Linked DNA regions of Homo sapiens: regions 2 and 3 are each linked to region 1. The links are contacts of gene promoters, found by promoter capture Hi-C in blood cells and fetal thymus (Javierre and others, 2016). All regions are on one chromosome and are shown on one strand. Each heading gives the region's core, a stretch centred on a gene start or on the middle of the fragment in contact. The rest is flanking DNA. Distances are from core to core; before and after follow the strand shown.

Region 1 (4,024 bases), core at 465-2,964:
AAGACCATTCATAGTTCATGGTACAAAACAGGTATCAATTCCCATTAATGCATAGACACTCCATAATTTAGTATTGCCAGACTTCTTTTTTTTTTTTTTTTTTTTTTTTTTGAGACCGAGTTTCGCTTTTGTCAACCAGGCTGGAGTGTAATGGCACCATCTCGGCTCACCGCAACCTCCACTTCCCGGGTTTAAGCAATTCGCCTACCTCAGACTCTCAAGTAGCTGGAATTACAGGCGCCTGCCACCATGCCCGGCTAATTTTTGTATTTTTAGTAGAGATGGGTTTCGCCATTTTGGCCAGGCTGGTCTGGAATTCTTGACCTCAGGTGATTCACCCACCTCGGCCTCCCAAAGCGTTGGGATTACAGGCTTGAGCCACCGCGCCCGGCCCATACTTCTTAATTTTGTGATTTATTGCCTGAAAAACGGTCTCGCTGTGGTGTTTTTTTTGTATTTCCCAGATTAATAATCAGACTGAATTCTTTTCATGTTTATTAGCCATAGCAACTCCTCTTCCACACTGGCATTTCTTATCTTTTTCAAAAATCTATTAATCACGAAAATCTCGTCATCTACATTTCTTCACAAAAGCCATATTACTTTTGATCTTTATAGATTATTTTACATTTGCCATATTTATACATAATATCTTCCCTTTTGGGGCATTTAGAGTGTGCGGACAAAGTCTAGGCAGTAATGCATTTATAAAACATCTATGAGTTGGGTGCACACGGGGTAATTTTCCACATATGGCTAATCCTAGCCTCATCAGATTAAGTTTCCCTGTCTTGTCATTTCCGAGGATGTATCCTATTAGAAGTCTAGCCCTTTATTCCTACAAATTGAATTTCCACTACTGTAGGCTAACATCTGAATGGACTCATCTTACTATTCCATGCATAGTACCAGGCACGTTGCGTGCTTTTACTACATTTTGTATAATTTTTACGTCTGTGTTTGATGTCCTGAAAAATACCGTCCACAATTACTTCACAGCTAGCCCCAGCACTTGGCGCCCAGCGGGTTTTCCTAGTCCCTCCCTGCCAAATCACGTTGGGACTGAGACAAGAGGCACTGCGGGTCTCTTACCTATAGTTACGAAGCAATGGACTCCCTTATTACTTCGTTTCCCAAATAGGGGGTGGGACACACAACCGAGGGAGTATGAGGAAAACAACTTGCGGGTCTTCGAGCCACTTGCGTCTTTCTGTGGGCGAGCCTTTCCAGGCCAATTACATTTTCTTTACTCATATTGCATAAATAGCAGAACTACATTTACCACAAAGGCCCGACATTCATGGTCATGGATCCTTGCGCATGTTTTCTAAGAGCAAACTGTACAAACACATAAACTCTGAAACACTGACGCACAAGCGAAAACACACGCACATGTTTGGGTCTTCTCCCGCTGCGCAAGTTCTTTGAAACTGAGCGGAGAAAAATCGTCTTCACATGGTGTCTCACACTTTCGACACAATCTTATCGGGAAACGTAACACGTAAACAAAATTTTTTAAAATGCATTATCAAAAACGATGACAATCCCTTTCGTCTTATGTTCCTTTTTGTCTTTAAGCTTTGGGGGGATTTATGTTGCGTTTCCAAACTGCTTCTGCCTGTCGGCGCCTGTGTGGAAACTGCGACGAGTCTGGGAGCGGCTGCCGGAGAGGCGGGGCAGAGGTGTGACGTCATCGCCGCGGGGCGGAGGCGACAGTGTCTAGCGGGAGCTCCGCGTGTAGCTACGCCGGCCGCCTGGCTTTGAGACAACGTGATTCTCCGCAGCTGGTCGCCTACCCGTGATGTTCTGCCCACGTCGAGACCTGAGCTGAAATGGCAGACGATCTCGGAGACGAGTGGTGGGAGAACCAGCCGACTGGAGCAGGCAGCAGCCCAGGTACCCACTCTGTGCCCGCGCTCCTACGGGGCCTCTCCCGGAGCCCTTCCGTGCGCCTCAGCCCTGGTCGCTTCTGGCGATCGCGGTGTTTGCCCAGCAGGGGTGTGCACCGCCTTGGGAGCGCGCAAGCATCTCGGGGAAAATGGTGCAAGAGATTCTTTAACACGTGAAACAGACAGCTGTGACATTAACTCAGATCTGTCTGCCAGCCAGGAAGGATCCTTTCCACAAGCTTTCTCTTTTCCTTATTTCTTGAGAATGGATAAGACAGTTTTTGTGAAGAGAGGCAACTTTGTATGATGGTTAAGGGTGACCCATGAACTGCTTTCAATTCAGACTGAGGTCAGAAGCAGGGGTTGCTGCTTCAGACTCCCTCCATTCAAATCACGACTCCAGTATTCTGATACTGTTTAGCCTCCTTTTCCTCATCTGTAAAATAATGATAACAATAATGTCCATTTCGTAAAGTTGTGAAGATTAAGTGAAGTTAGTACAGTAATGCACTTTAGCATAGTGCTTGACATATAATGTGTGGTAAATATAAGTTACTGTATTTCTTGTGGTCATCATCATTATCATGGAATTTGGAATAGTAGAACTGGAAGGAGGCTTAAATAGAGATCATCCTTTGAACTCACTTATTTTACAGATGAGAAACATAACCTAAAGATGTCAAGTAACTTGACAAGTTCACAAAGCTAGCTCCTTTCAGAAACAATACTAGAATTCAGTTAACACAATTTGAATAGTTTCTACTATGCTCTGCTGTGTTTACCAACTCCTGATGCAGTGGGCATTTCATCCCCAAGTAGAGTAGCGTTAAGTGACCCCCCATGTCAGGCTAGCCTTGAACTTTTTAAGTTCCATCACACCTACCATGCAATTATTGGTTGGTTGGTTTTTATCACTCCTCAAGGTCTGCCTCTTTTCTCTACAAGAGAAGACAGGGCCAAAGTCAGATTCATACTTCTGTCATCCACAGGGCCCTGCACATGTTAGACACTTGATACCTATTTGCTGCAAACAATCTTGAAATACTAGTTGTGAAATATCCATTAAAAATAACCAACTTCATTTGTTGCATTGTTTCCGGAAGGTCAAGCCTTCAGGTACAAACTAAGCAGATGTCATTTTTAGAAAGGTAGCCAATACAACATTTCCTTGATTAAACTTCCTGACTCTTTTGCAGCCCTGTGGTGTTCCACATTTACTTTAATAACTACCCCTCCCAACTCAGGTGTTAAAAAGCTCTATTTTATGATATGATTGAAGATGAACAGAGGCCATTTAAGAAATAGTTGAATTCTGTTTGAGTGGTGAAGGGGATCCCAATTCTTGGTTCTAGTCCTCACTAGCTGTGTGACTTTCAAGTTATTCATCCGTTGGAAGAAAGGCAGTCAACATGTATTGAGTATCTATTATGTGACAAATGTCTTCATAAATATGAATTGATTTAACTTTCATAACATCCCGAAAAGGTAAGTATTCTCTTCATTTGTATAGGTGAAGAAACAGAAAAAAGTTAAGTCGTGTTCTTAGGAACACACATTGAAGAAGAGGTCTGGGAAGAGTTTAGTCAAGTGTGATTGATTTTGAAAGTCACGCTTTTCCCGCTACTACTTTGTGACTTCTCTGGGCCTTTGTATCATAATCTGTAAAGAGCCCTTAAAGATCATCTTTTTTAGGGTTTTACCAACCAACAGTTTTTTTTTTCTTTTTTTTTTTTTTTGACACGGAGTCTCCCTCTGTCGCCCAGGCTGGAGTGCAGTGGCACGATCTCGGCTCACTGCAACCTCTGCCTCCTGGGTTCAAGCGATTCTCCTGCCTCAGCCTCCCAAGTAACTGGGATTACAGGTGCCCGCCACCACACCCAGCTAATTTTTGTATTTTTAGTAGAGACGGGGTTTCACCATGTTGGCCAGGCTGGTCTTGATCTCTTGACCTCGTGATCTGCCCACCTCGGCCTCCCAAAGTGCTGGGATTACAGGCGTGAGCCACCGTGCCTGGCCCCCAACAGTTTTAAACACTGAATCTAGTAAAACTTTAAATCGCTACAGCCTCCTTCATCTAAGTTGCCAGAATTCTCATGAAGACAGTGTGTTGGAGTGCCTAAGATTGCTCTACTTCT
Region 2 (4,024 bases), core at 451-2,950, 2.0 Mb before region 1:
TGTCATAGACGCAATTTGTCTTAGTGTAAACATGGCATTATTTGTATTTACCATTCACTTAAGTGCTTTGCTGTGCTACCGAGTGGAGATCAGAGTATTGTTAGATATATTATTAGTTAAAACCATAATTCATTAATTAAATCCTATTGACTCCCCCCCATTTTTATTCCAAGAAAAACTTCCTGAACGAAGTACCCTCTGGGTAGGCACTGGGGCCTGGTTTGATCACAGAACAAGTCAGGGACAAATGTGATAGTCATTCAATAATACGTTGGGAAGACAAATTATCATTTGGGCCTTTTAGCTGGAAGAAACAGTTTGCTTTATTACTCTCTTTGGGCTTTTTGGTAAGTGGGTCTTCAGTGGAGATTCTCTTATAAAATAATAAAGCTAGAATTGGGAACTTGTCTTATTCTAGTCTATTATCTTAGTCTTTTTCTATTTTCTCAGACTAGGCTCACAGAGAAATAGGAAAAATTTACCAAAGAGTAAAAAAGGATTAATCTTGAGGGATAGACTGAGATGAACCCGATTGATGGAAATCGGGCTGACTGAACTTTAATGGGTTAAATCCTGCCAGAACAAATGAGAATGAGTGTCTTGGCTCTATTGCAGTTAGTAGGAGCTGGAGGGCTTCTGGGAGGCAGCGTGGGGAGGCAGGGAGGCTCAATAGCCTCCAGCAGGTGCTGAAAGGACTTGGGGCTTATAGGTATGCAATCTACTTATGAGCAACCTTCTCCTCCAGCACCCGAAAGCCAGAGGGGAGATTACTCCAAGGCTCCCCTCTGCTGTGGACATTTCATTTTTATCTCATTTACTTGTATACATTTTTTAATGAACAAAAGCCATATCACTTCCTTGACGTCTACTCCAGGGGCAGCTTGCCTTCAAACAAAAACAAAACACTTGGGGTGAATGGGCCTCTCAGTATCTCCTGTACTAGCTGCTATAGGGTATGAAAAACCAAGAAAAATCCATACCACTGTACTTAGACTTAAAACAAGTCTTAAGCACCCTTTGGTTCCCAGATTTCAGTGGCATCTGTGTAACGACTGCAAAATATGTTGCAGCATTGACAAGCTTGAAATCATACTTTTTGATCAGTGCCGTTTTTGAAAGAGTTCGCAGGGAAGTATGGCGTGTGAAAAGTCTGAAGCACAGCGCGGTTAGGAAAAGTCACACCACAGAAAGCCAGCAGAACGCGCCGGGAGGTGGTGACCGCCTGACAGGTACCCCCTTCTCCCTCCCGCCGCCCGGTTCTGTGCTAACGCGACTTTCGCCCTCAGGGTTGGAGCTGTATTTGCGGTAGCTGTTTCTTAGCTCCCAGCAAGTCCGGGGCGCCCCGGTACTGCAGTTTGCCAAGTGTTTTCACAAACCTTAGTTCATAAACCTCTTTCAAAAGCCCGAAGAAAACCGTTTCTGTGCTCTGACTGTAGAATAGAAAACACAACGGTCACAGAAAGTAATTGAAGGCAAAGCCCAACAGGCTGCAGCCTGAACTTGTTTGAGCCGTAAGCCCGAGCCTAGCGTCGCACGCTGGGCGACTCCCCTCAGGCTCTCAGGCCGGCGCCTTCGGGGGACCACGTAGCGCCCCAGCGGTGGCGGCTGCGCCCGGCTCAGGGCGGTGCCGCGGCCACTGGCTCCTCCTCGGGGTGGGGCGGGCCGCGCCGGGCGAGGGCGGGAGGAGGAGCAGCCGCAGCGGCGTGAGGAGCTGCCGCGCGAGGAGCGCGTCGCGTCCGCACTTCTCCTGCCCGAGAGAGACTGAGCCGCGCTGGCAGCTCGCGTCGAGTCGGTCTGCCCTAGCCGCATCCCGCGGCGCCCGGTCGGGCTCCGGGCACCAGGCAACACCTAGGCCGTTCCCTTCAGACAGCCCCGGGCCAGCGGCCCCCTCGGGAAATGTCCAGCGGCCGCAGAAGGGGCAGCGCCCCCTGGCACAGCTTCTCCCGGTTCTTCGCTCCCCGAAGTCCTTCCCGGGACAAGGAAGAGGAAGAGGAGGAGAGGCCGGGGACGAGCCCGCCTCCAGCTCCAGGCCGGTCCGCTGCCAGGTGGGAGTCGAGGAGGGGGTCGCGGGGGGGCCCTGCACATATTCGCGGGATGAAGGCTCCCGGCCTGACCGCCGGCAGCGGGCCGCTCTTGGGCCAGGCTGCAGTTCGCTCGCCACTTTCTGTTCTCCTTCCTCCATTGCTAAAGTTTCCTCCTCCTTGCCCCGTTCCCGTGCCGCACTACTCGCCTCTCCTCTGCAGGTTAAATCGGGGTGAAGTTCTTGCCCGGCAGCCGGACGCATATCCCCCGATCCCCGCCTGGCTCCGCGCTCTTCCTTTCCCACTTTCCCCTGCCCGGACGTGATTGGGTTCCCGTTCCACACACGCTCTACTCTCCAAGTTCTGTGGCAAAAGCGATTTCCCCGGCGTCCCGCCTGCAGTAATGGGAAACACTTGTGAGCCGAGCGGAGCCGTCGGCCAGGGGAATTGGGGGCGCGATCCCAGCACCACTTGTGTGGGAGGAGATCGGGGCAAAAGTGGAAAAGGTAAAGCTTTGGGGCGTCACCCCCTCAGCTGGTATTTTTGCCATCTTATTTAAATTTTCTCAAAATGATTTTTAAAAGGAATTGTGATAATGCGTTCCCAAGACTTTCACCAAAATGGACTGGACATGTAAATGACGCCACCCTTCTTTATTTCTCATCTCTCCTAGAAACATCTGCCTCAAGTTCCCAAACAGATTCTGGAAATCAGGTTTCCAGCTGTCTTGGTTTCAGTAATCAAAATGTACCCTTTCTCTGTAATATTTTTATCTTTCCTTCACTTTCCCATGTTCAAAAATCAAAAAATTTTAGACATGCCTCATTTAAATGCCTGTTTCTGAGTCTTTTCATCCCCCCGAAGAAAGAGGGGTTAAGTAAAACGCAGCTCGCTTTCTTAAACTTATGAGAGGCTTACACTGTCTTCTCCCGAGATTGCACTAGAATGACCATTGTCATTGGAAGGACACACTCCAGAAAACCGTGTTTACTTCGGACTCAAGATTTCCTGGTGGGCTTAAAAAAAATGGATAGGAAACAGAACTGAGAGTGAGCCAATTCCATTAGTATTCAGATTTTGTGATGTGATTTTAGTCGTTTGTGTGTTCCTCGGTTTCCCCGCTTGTGAAACATTTTCATTATGACCGTCTGTTAATAACATGCCACATGTTTCCAAGAAAGCTCCTACGATAATTGAGTGGTTATTCTCCTGGGACGTTTCAGCTATTATTGCTCTGACTGTTGAGAGTTTAAAATTCAAAGTTACACAGAAGTTAAAAATAGTTTTTAAGTCTGACAGATCTCATCCAGGGTGTCAGCTAGTTCTGTTGGTGTGGGCAGACAGCCTGTGGTGCCTGCCACCGCCGTAACAGCACTAACAGTCTTGGATAATATGAACGCAGTCTGCAAGGAAATCCCAAGTAGGCGCAGCAAAAGTTGGGAACTTGAGAGTCAGTGTTAGAAAGGAGTAAGCAGGTCAAATTCAGGCTCATGTCAGTAATGGCCTGAAATCCTGCTTGCCTCTCTGCCCTATTTTGGCTTTTTAAGGCACTTCTCAATTCTAATTTCTTTACTGACTGGAGCTGACCCCTCCAGCAACTAGTTCCTTGTTCACCTACCACTTCTCTATTCTCATCATCTCCAGATTGGCACAAATTATGGCTTTTCAACGATGAAGATTTTAATTGTGCTTATATCAACGCTAATTTTGTTCTCATCTTTTTTGGAACTTGCCAGATGTTAGGGGGATAGCAGATGACCCTTTATGTGGGTGTTTTACTGTTTTAAATGAGCTTAAATCTTTCATTTCAAGGGCATAAACAAACACAAAGCCTTTATTGAAAGTTTAATAAAACAAATGGAACCGCTTTATAGTACTGAATGTCCCAGTAACACAACACCCTGATGTTAACAAGATTGGAAACAGAATTGCAATTTGTCACTGTGATCTTATTTCAAAATGAAAGAGTATTTTGGCTATTTCTCTTTGTGGGCATAAAAACT
Region 3 (4,024 bases), core at 463-2,962, 1.7 Mb after region 1:
TTAGAGGTTTGGTGGGGGGTGGAGACTATTAAAACACTCATCAGTTGGAGGCATATACCTACATGTATGTATAAATATACATATATATCATTTATACATGTGCTTTCAAAGGAAAAAACTATTATCTCCAGAATATACACCAAGAACATCGATAACATTGGTTGCATATGAAAAGGGATTTCAGGTTTTCAACTGCTTCAAGCAGTGTCCCCAGAGATCCATAATCACTCTCCTTTGCAATTAAGGCTGAAAGCAGTTTGAGATGCACTGCCACAGGGCACTCCTAAATAAATTTGGAATTGGTTTTTTTTGTTTTTTTTTTGTTGTTGTTGTTGTTTGATACAGAGTCTCGCTCTGTTGCCCAGGCTGGAGTGCAGTGGTGCGATCTCGGCTCACTGCAAGCTCCGCCTCCCGGGTTCACGCCATTCTCCTGCCTCAGCCTCCTGAGTAGCTGGGACTACAGGCGCCCGCCACCACGCCCGGCTAATTTTTTGCATTTTTTAGTAGAGACGGGGTTTCACAATGTTAGCCAGGATGGTCTCGATCTCCTGACTTTGTGATCCGACCGCCTCGGCCTCCCAAGGTGTTGGCATTACAGGCGTGAGCCACCGCGCCCGGCCAATAAATCTGTAATTGTTAACTGTCTCTGCAGAAACCAACGGTACCATCAGAAACAGAAAAATGAAATGAAATAATTGATTCATTGGGCGTTCGTTTGTGTACTGGACTGTAAGCATATGAGTCCTCGTCCTCTCCTCCTACCATCCATAGGACTTAACACAAGGACTTGAGGACCCCCTAATGGATGAAATGTTTGATAAAAACTTCTCAACTGGGAGGAGCTCTACCTCACGTTTTTATAACTCCACTTTCTTGTTTCCAAGACGTTGTACACAAAACTGAAGATAGTCATTTAAAACAAAGTAACGTCCAAAACAAAAAATATGCTGAAAATAAAAACACAACGAAAGCACGGCTTCAAATCCTTTGTTTGACTTTCCAATCACTTTTGGAAGACGCAGGGTAGGCTGGAAAAGAAAAAGGCTATTAGGCGGGCCTGTTCAGCAGAACGAGACCCGGAGAGGCATTGTATCAAAGAAAAGGAGTCTCCGGTCGCAAGCCCCACCTTTCCTCCCCAGCAGCAGCTACCTGCTGAGGGAAAGAGGAGGGAGAGGGGAAGGGACGCAAAGTCGAGAATCAAAGGAAGAGAGGAAAGTGGGGTCAGGCGCTGAGAAGCCGAAATGAAATTGGAACATTGGTGGAATTACGAGGAAGGCGTGGCAGAGAGTGACAAGCCAACCGGGAAGATCCATGGGCCGATGAGACGCAAGGAGGGTGTTCGCGGGAGGAGGGAAAAAATAAAAGGGGTTTTGAGGTGAAGAGCGCCCGAGGCTTCGATGACAGCTCGGACCGGGTCTTCGACTCCAGGGGCGGGGGCGACCCGGGAGCCTTCCATTGTGCGCGCCCCTTCCTCTCCCCGCCCCCGCCCTCGCCCCCGCGGCTTCGGGCCGCAACCCCAGCTGCCGCCTGCGCCTCCCGTTTCCCCCGGGTAGGAGACAATATGTTCAGCCCTTCTCTGACCCTTTCTCACCGGATGAAGATGGCCGTCGCCCGAGCTTTCTCTTGTCCATCTTCTCCCGCTGCTGAAATTTCAGTTGCAGGCGCTGTCACCTCAGGACCCCTCCGGCTTGGAGAGGGAGGGGGAGGGGAAAGGAAAAAAAAAAAAAAAAAAAAAAAAAAAAAAAAGCCCGCAAAGTGCGAAGCGCGCTTGCGCAAGAGCCGTCGCCTGCCCTTCGACCGGAAATCAGCCGCCCCTCCCACCTTCGACCGGAAATCACTTCCTGGGACTTTTCACTGTGGGCTGCCTCTTCCAGCGTTTTTTTGGTGGCGTTTATTTCATGATCTGAGCCCCTCTGGGGAGGTGAACCACCTGGGTGCTCGATTTTAGCTTTGTTGACTTTGAAGATTAGATTGACAAAAATTAAAAGGGAAAAACAGGAACTCCTCCGGTTCACTGGATCTCGCGAGGTGGCCAAACAACTATGAAAACAAAACGTTAGCGTTTGCAGTATTACATCCCTCACAGCCTCTCTTACATATTTGCCCCCAACGCCTTTCCTCGAACTCAGAAACCAAAAGATTTTAAGATGGCAAAATCACCTAATAATAGCCTAGCTATTAGTTTAGCATTTGCTGTGGAAATATGTCAGCAGACGAGGAAAAATGTCTTAGGATTCCTTTTTAAAATTCGAACTTGTGATTTTTAAAGTTCCTTAAAAGAAAAGCTAGAACTTAATTTTTCAATAACTGAAATGCTGATATGACAGAAAGTGGGTGGCTATAAACTTGGAATTTGTTCAATTAACATTTACCACGATACTTAAGGGACTAATCCAGTCCTCAATGAACTCAAGGTCTGGTACTATTAGCCTGATTATCCCTAATGGTGCATATCTGAATAATTTTTAAATGCACGTGTAAGCTTTCATGACGATTTAATCACAAGTTTAACAAAATTCAGCACAGTGCTCTAAGCAGGGAAAATGTTTCTGGCATGTTCAAAGCCCGAAGGGACTCTGGAAGTAGGGTTTGATTCCCAAGCTGGCCCCTTTATACCCCTAACGCCTATCCCTCCAACCCCCATCTCCCATCCTAACGGAGTCAATAAAGGGATCGGCCCAACTCGTCCACTAGAGCAGTCCCCTTCATCGTGAGTTAAGCCTTCTTAATTATAATGTGGTCAGTCCCCAGGTAGAGGTAAGGCCCCAGGTGTTGTGGGGTGTTGGGCCTGGGGAAGTGTTCTACATGGCAGGAATGACTGCAAAGCAGAAATACTTTAAGTCTTGCTGGGATTGAAGTTTACTGTAAGGATTTCGTTTTATTTGGTTAATTTCTGTTTAACAAAAACATTGCTTTCTGAAAAATAATTGAATTTTCAGTTTCCTCACAAATTAACTTTTTTTTTTTTTTGAGACGGAGTCTCGCTCTGTCGCCCAGGCTGGAGTGCAGTGGCACAATCTCGGCTCGCTGCAAGCTTCACCTCCTGGGTTCACGCCATTCTCCTGCCTCAGCCTCCCGAGTAGCTGAGACTACAGGCGCCCGCCACCACGCCCGGCTAATTTTTTGTATTTTTTAGTAGAGATGGGGTTTCACCATGTTAGCCAGCATGGTCTCGATCTCCTGACCTCGTGATCCGCCCGCCTCAGCCTCCCAGAGTGCTGGGATTACAGGCGTGAGCCACTGCGCCTGGCCCAAATTAACTTTTTTAACTAAAGAACTTAACTGATTCTAAAGTCAAGCTGGGCCGGACACAGTGGCTCGCGTCTGTAATCCCAGCACTTTGGGAGGCCGAGGCAGAATAGATTGAGCCAAGACATTCCAGACCATCCTGGGCAACAAAGCAAGACCCCCCTCTCCACAAAAATATACAGGCCAGATGCTATGACTCACCCTTGAGCCCAGGAGTTTGATACCAGCCTGGGCAATATAGTGAGACCTCCTCTCTACAAAGAAAAAAACTAGCCACACGTGGTGGCGCATGCCTGTAGTCCCAGGTACTCAAGAGGCTAAGGCAGGAAGATCACTTAAGCCCATGGAGTTAAAAGTTGCAGTGAGCCTTGATCAGGCCACTGCATTCCAGCCTGGGCGACAGAGCCAGACTGTCTCGGAAAAAAAAAAAAAAATGACCCGGGCACGGTGGAGCACACCTATAGTCCCCGGCTACTGGGGAAGATGAGATTTAAGGATTACTTGAGTCCAGGACTTTGAGGCTGCAGTGAGCTATGATCGCTACACGGTACTGCGGCCTGGGCGACACACAGATACCCTGTCTCCAAAAAACATAAAAAATAAACTTCCCAGACGATTCTGTTGCATACTCCAATTTGGTAAAACCAACACTTAGTGACATCTGCTTTTTTCTTTTTCCTATCTCTAATATTCTTTTTTCTATGTGTCCTTGCCTCTGGTGGATTAAATACAACTTTTTTGTTCCCTAGGGAGAGGTGAACAGTGAGGAGGGACA

The links. Contacts are between HindIII fragments. The CHiCAGO score rates a contact against its expected background, and 5 or more counts as called.
Region 2: a contact is called between the fragment with the promoter of CRYBG3 here and the fragment with the promoter of CMSS1 in region 1, in 4 of 17 cell types (naive CD4 T cells, total CD8 T cells, activated CD4 T cells and 1 more). The highest score is 6.4, in naive CD4 T cells.
Region 3: the fragment with the promoter of SENP7 here is called in contact with the fragment with the promoter of CMSS1 in region 1 in 3 of 17 cell types (total B cells, naive B cells and fetal thymus); the score reaches 8.2 in total B cells.

Annotation. Positions count from the first base shown.
Region 1 is chr3:99,816,148-99,820,171 of GRCh38, forward strand. CMSS1 (cms1 ribosomal small subunit homolog) reads left to right here and starts at 1,715. Exons shown (of 10, transcript NM_032359.4): 1 at 1,715-1,896. The coding sequence starts at 1,833. HP09053 (a long non-coding RNA gene) reads right to left here. Exons shown (of 3, transcript NR_110821.1): 2 at 2,773-2,827; 3 at 485-2,325. LOC105374010 (a long non-coding RNA gene) reads left to right here and starts at 1,715. Exons shown (of 5, transcript NR_189163.1): 1 at 1,715-1,896. RefSeq lists a silencer at 1,396-2,150 and enhancers at 1,566-2,440, 1,672-1,981. The HindIII fragment of the contact is 550 bases long and covers 1,577-2,126 here.
Region 2 is chr3:97,820,311-97,824,334 of GRCh38, forward strand. It overlaps CRYBG3 (crystallin beta-gamma domain containing 3), which reads left to right and starts at 1,701. Exons shown (of 22, transcript NM_153605.4): 1 at 1,701-2,045. The coding sequence starts at 1,897. LOC101929298 (a long non-coding RNA gene) reads right to left here and starts at 1,466. Exons shown (of 3, transcript XR_427389.3): 1 at 1,377-1,466. RefSeq lists a silencer at 1,478-1,847. The HindIII fragment of the contact is 1,453 bases long and covers 1,079-2,531 here.
Region 3 is chr3:101,511,500-101,515,523 of GRCh38, forward strand. SENP7 (SUMO specific peptidase 7) reads right to left here and starts at 1,713. Exons shown (of 24, transcript NM_020654.5): 1 at 1,592-1,713. The coding sequence starts at 1,631. The HindIII fragment of the contact is 4,750 bases long and covers 1-2,480 here.